2 separate regions of the Homo sapiens genome follow, and region 1 is linked to region 2. Evidence: promoter capture Hi-C in 16 types of primary human blood cells and fetal thymus (Javierre and others, 2016). All regions are on one chromosome and are shown on one strand. Each heading gives the region's core, a stretch centred on a gene start or on the middle of the fragment in contact. The rest is flanking DNA. Distances are from core to core; before and after follow the strand shown.

Region 1 (2,700 bases), core at 2-2,501, 520 kb before region 2:
TGTTCTGTCCTTTGGGGACAATAGGCTAGATCAGCTCCCTCTCACACTGCATTTTTCTCAAGATTCACCAGGAACATTATAGACCCATTTAACAGGCGGCTGGTCTTGTTTCTTTTTCCCACTTTCTCCACCCCAAGAATGATATACTAGATTTCTTTTTTCTTTTCCTTTTTCTTATGCAAATATCCAAAGTAGTGGGGACATTCCTAAGAGCAGACAGAATTTAAACCAAAAGATTAATTTCATGAACCTGCATGGAACAAGAGCTTTGCTTGTGGAACAGGAAATGAATGGGGTTTTTCCATTCTTCAAAGCTGAGGAAAGTGAGTGAGAACTATGAAGATACCAGTTCTTTCATAATACGGTAAGTCATTAGAGAAAAAATTAGGCTCCAGAAAAGATACATACAGATAAACATTGTCACCATTTCCCTTTCAAAGTTAGGAACACCTTAATTTGTATTTACACATTCTGCCTTCTCCTCACCAAGGCAATGCTTAAAGTGGCTCTTAGGCTTTATGTATGTATAAAGAAAGCTTTGGTTTTGATGCATTAAGGAACTAGGATGTGACTGCTCCTAGCATCTGACTGTTGAGTATTCGCATCCTTCCTTCCTGCAATGCAGTTCATTCTCAATAAGTGACAAACCCTTATTTCAAATTCAGAAGCTATGGTTCTATTTTCCATGATACTAACACCCCTACAGTATGCTTCAGGATTCTGGTAGGAAAAAGATTCACTCCAAATCAACCAAATGAAGAAACTCCAATGAAGTGAGAACTTACATTAGTTTTGGGCATGATGAAGGAAACAAACAAAGAATGGTGAGACACCCAGAGACTTCAATAGTGGGAAGCAAAAATTAGCACCACTGGCACTGAAGGAAGAAAGGGAGAAAATATTGTTCCAGGAACCCAGAGAGACCTGAGGTTGAGAAGCAGGGACCAGTGATGGGAGCTGTAGCCATAGAAGATGGAATAGGAGGAAAAGGAAGTAAACACTCTGACCCCTTTTTCCTCCCATCCTCTTATTCTCCCATTGATCTCCTATTGACCAAATCCAACTGGAGGATAGCAATCAGCTATGGGGGAATCCAGGTAATGAAATCTGTAGGGATCAGTGTCCCGGAGTAAAACACAGGATAGAAAAGGGCAAAGAATGTATCTTGGATTGAAAGAAATATATAAAGAAAAAAATTTACAGACACACCCAAGTAAGACTTGTTAGTAGGTCACTAGACTGTTTATCATTTAACAATATTTATCCCTGGTGGTCTAAAGAAGAGAACCATAGGGAGCTCTCCTGGTGAGGATTCTGTAATGCATTTATGTATAAATAGTACTGTCTCATTTCCTCTCTCCTCAAGCCAAATAAGTCTTCCAAAGAGAACTACTGAAAAAGATAGAAAAGATGCTCTCCAGAAAGACAGACTGCCAGACAATATCCTTGCTGAGAACAAAAGCTCACAGTCAACCCTATATTACCACGGGCACAGAGTGAGAGAAGGTTCTTGGCTTTTTTCCTCTGGAGTTTTAGGACATAGATTCTGATGTCTGACCTCTTTTGAAGAGATGAGAACAGATAACTGGCCAGAAAAACCATGACACCTGAGTGAAGAAAGAGTAGTTTAGTGAGATCATGCCACAGTCCCAAGGATTAGGTTGACACTAAGGAAGATATATGGGCATGAAGCAACTAAGAAAACATTGCCCAAAATGACTGCTTTCCAGGGCCATGAGATACCAGCATAACAAGGCTCTATGGGTATTGGAGAGCCAAGAGAGAACTAGCAGTCTTTGTTAATTTAAAGGCGCTTTTTCTCTCATCCTCCACTCACCTCTCCTTCTTCCATCCTGAAGCAACCTGACGTATGGAAAGGAAAGGCAGAAGCAAGAAAAATAGAACAATAATTCACCAGATCCCCCTAGCCCACTGCTGGCCACTTAGTCACTAGGCAGGGAAAGAGAGAAGCTTTGATTTGGATGAGAGATCGAAAACAGTTTTCTTTTGGATTATACCAAACCACTAAATACCTAAAAGTAGCTTGAGATCAGACACCTGGCATTGACTATGCAGAAGGCTGCAAAACCTCAGACAGACTCCAAATTAGAGGAACCAGGTCCTTCTAAAGTATAAGTTGAAGGGTGGGCCAGAAAACAGGCAGATGTATTGAAAATCATGATAGACAACAATCAGAGCCCCAGATTTCCCTCCTAACTCTTATCCTAGTCATGGGGCTTCTCCTCTTCCATCCCAAAGAAGACTGAGTAACAGCCCTCCCTCGAGTAGAGAGGCTTTTAAGATTGCACAGCTAAGAATGACAATGAGGCACCACAATGAAAAGAGGGGATTATGTGACAGTTGACCCACCTAACACTGGGAACCCTTCACCTCTTTGCCCACCTGGAAACCAGAACACTGGCAGCTGCGCTGTCCTAGCAAGTGTCTTGGATTCTTATAAAAGCAAGCTAGTGGGACACTCATGGTGGCTGATGCCTGTAATCCCACACTTTGGGAGGCAGATGGAGCACTCAAGCCCAAGAATTCAACACCAGCCTGGACAACATAGTGAAACCCCATCTCTACAAGAAATACAAAAATTAGCCAGGCATGGTGGCACGTGTCTGTAATCCCAGCTACTTGGCAGGCTGAGGTGGAAGAATCAGCTGAGCCTGGGGAGATTGAGGCTACAGTGAGCCA
Region 2 (2,700 bases), core at 135-2,634:
GACACGGAGGAGGACGGCGCGGGGCTGTTGGTGCAACTCCACGTGGAGGCGGGCGAGGGGCTGTCTCCGCTGCTGCTCAGGGCGGCGCTGGCTCCTCCCGGGCTCAGCAACACTGCCTCGGAGAAGAGCGCCCCCGGCAGGCCCCCGCCGCCGCCCCCGCAGTGATCCGCCAGGCGCAGGGTCTCGGTGAGTGCCCAGATGTAGTTGTGGGCGAAGCGCAGGGTCTCGATCTTGGTGAGCTTGGCGTCCTCGGGGAACGTGGGGAGCACCTCGCGCAGCGCGTCCAGTGCCGCGTTGAGGTTGTGCATGCGGTTTCGCTCGCGGTTGTTGGCCTTCAGTCTACGGGTCTTCTTGATGCGCTGCACCGTCTCGGCCGTCTTGGCGCCTCGGGAGACGGCCCGCGCCCGGGAAGGGCGCCGTTTGCAATCGTGTACCAGACCCAGCAGCCGTGCGGGCCGGCAGCCCTCCGCACCCGCAGCCACGCCGCCCCGCGCCCCCTGCCCGGCCTCAGCCCCGCGCTGCCGACGCGCCCCGCCTGACGCGCCCGGCTCCTCCTCCTCTTCTTCGTCGGCGCTGGATGACAGCGGGGTCAGGGCCGCCAAGGCGGGGGAGGCCGATCCGAGCAGCACTAACACGTCCTCTTCCTCCTTCAACTCCAAGGTCTCGGATTTGACGAACATCCTACCGAAGAGAGAAAGGGGAAAAAGGCAGTGAGGTGTAAGGAAAGAAACAGAGGCGCGATCTTCGTGTCACAGGGGCGTGCTCCGGCGCGCACCCGAGAAGACCAGCTCCGAATGGCGCGGAGCAGGAAGGCGAAGGAAGAAACCCAGGCAGTGCTAACCAAGGTCAGGAGCGCCGCTAGCGCTCGCTGTGACCCTGCTGCCAGTCAGCCGGGTCCTGCCCTCCGCGGGCGGTCCTGCGTTCCCTCCCCGAGAAGGGACTGCGGCCTCCGCGACAAAGATTCTGCGCGGAGCAGAGGGCGTGCGGGTGTGGTTGGACTGAGTGCGGGGAAACCACCTGCGTAGTTGGAAGCGGTGGCTCGAATACTTACTTAGTTGGCTCTAACTGTGCCTCAGCGTTGCTGTGACTTTGGCCTGTGCCGGGAATCTCCGCGCAGCTGCGAGCGCAGCGCCGGGTCCTTCGCCCGGCGTGAAAGCTGCAAGCCCGGCGCTACTGTGGCGCAGCTCCGCGGGGGACCTCTGCGACCGGCGAGTTTGCCAAGAGCCCCGGCGGCGGCGGCGGCGGCCCGCCCGGGTCTCGTGTGTTGTGGTGGTGGTGCGTGTCTGTCTGTCAGTCAGTCCCTGGCCGTGCGGCTCCTGGCACGCGACTCCCAGGCACTCCAGTTAACGCGAAGCTGCTTGTGGTTCAGTGGCTGCGTGTCTGGCACACGACTCTCCTTAAAACCCCTTATATACCACCAAGAAAACAATCAGATCTGCCCCGGGCCCCCTCCTCCCCCGCCACCGCCTCCTCCTCCTGTCAGTCCTGCCCCCCTTCTCCCCCGCTTTTCCCTCCTCTGGCTTATTCTTTTCATTGCATTATCATCATTCATTTCTTCCTCTTTCTTCACCGCCTTTCCCCCTCCCTTGGCCCTGCCATCCATCCTCCTCCTCCCACCACCCCCGCCTCTCTTTTCCCCCTTTATCTAATCAACATAAAATGGTTCTAAAGCTCCTGTTGGAGCTCCGGGCTGCGGCCGGAGCTGGCGAAGCCGCAGCGGCCGCAGAGGCTCAAGCTGCGGCTGTTGTCGCCGCCGCTGTCCATTGTGATTGGTGGCTCGCGCTCGGCTGGAGCGTGCCGCTAATTTATTAATGAATGGAGGTCGCGAGGCGCAGCTGGCCAATCAGGGCGCCCTGGACTCCGGGAGGCCTGCGAGCCACGCGCACCGGAGCCCGCTCCCTTTCAGCAGCTCATTAGGGGCCCGAGCGCTGGGGGCGGATGGGGGGACCCGTGCTACCGCCCCCGCCTTCGTCCTCGCTGCCGCCGAGGCTCCCCCCGCCCGGCGCGCGCGCAGGCACCGCACCCGGCGCTGCCGGCCCTCCTAACTCCCGGGTGATGGGAACTAGGAATTAGTTAATGGGGGTCAGAATCCCGGGGAAAGCAGTTAGCCCTGTGGTGCTGCCGGGCGTCTCTTGGCAAAGCCTCTTAGGGGTTGTATCAAATAGTAAACGATTTTAAAATGGATTCATTTGGTTAGGGGAGGAGAATGGCGTGGATGGAGAGATGTGGACACCTCGTGAACAAGTGTGTTTGGGGTCCGTCGAAACTGGCGTGGGAGAGTGAAGGGAGAGGACACTGGGGATTCAAACAGGCGTCTCTTGGGAGGGGAGGTCGGATAGGGGAGCAGTTGATGAGCTTTTAGAGGATGTGAGAATGAAATCACTCACATGTTAGAGCTGAAAGGATCCCCCTCATTTTACATACAGGAAACTGAGGCTCCGGGCACTGATGCAGGTTTTGCTGGGGTTAACCCAGTTTATAGCCTGGAGGGACAGCAAGGAGGCTTCCTGCGTGGGTGGCAGCGAACCGAGCGGGAGGAGCGGCAGAGCTGCTGCTCCTGCAAGCAAATGCGCTGCGCTGACATTTCTGTGACCTCTGCTCCGCGCTGGGGGGCGTTGTAGGGACAAGGGGCCCATCTTCCCAATTCTGCTTTTCAATGAGAAAAAAGAGCTGAAGGGCTACTGGACCTCGGGGGAAACT

The links. The method cuts DNA at HindIII sites, captures the fragments that hold promoters and counts their contacts. A CHiCAGO score of 5 or more calls a contact.
Region 1: a contact is called between a fragment that was not itself captured here and the fragment with the promoter of NEUROG2 in region 2, in 1 of 17 cell types (neutrophils). The highest score is 5.1, in neutrophils.

Annotation. Positions count from the first base shown.
Region 1 is chr4:111,995,190-111,997,889 of GRCh38, forward strand. All of the region lies in intron 1 of LINC02945 (long intergenic non-protein coding RNA 2945), which reads right to left. Among named protein-coding and RNA genes, the nearest start is that of LINC02945, 120 kb to the right of the region's middle. The HindIII fragment of the contact is 1,435 bases long and covers 535-1,969 here.
Region 2 is chr4:112,514,796-112,517,495 of GRCh38, forward strand. NEUROG2 (neurogenin 2) reads right to left here and starts at 1,385. Exons shown (of 2, transcript NM_024019.4): 1 at 1,052-1,385; 2 at 1-681. The coding sequence starts at 680. It overlaps NEUROG2-AS1 (NEUROG2 and ZGRF1 antisense RNA 1), which reads left to right and starts at 584. Exons shown (of 4, transcript NR_161159.1): 1 at 584-845. LOC124900760 (a long non-coding RNA gene) reads left to right here and starts at 2,010. Exons shown (of 2, transcript XR_007058231.1): 1 at 2,010-2,244. RefSeq lists silencers at 17-216, 477-546, 1,867-2,146 and enhancers at 2,156-2,700, 2,287-2,386, 2,487-2,606. The HindIII fragment of the contact is 11,776 bases long and covers 1-2,700 here.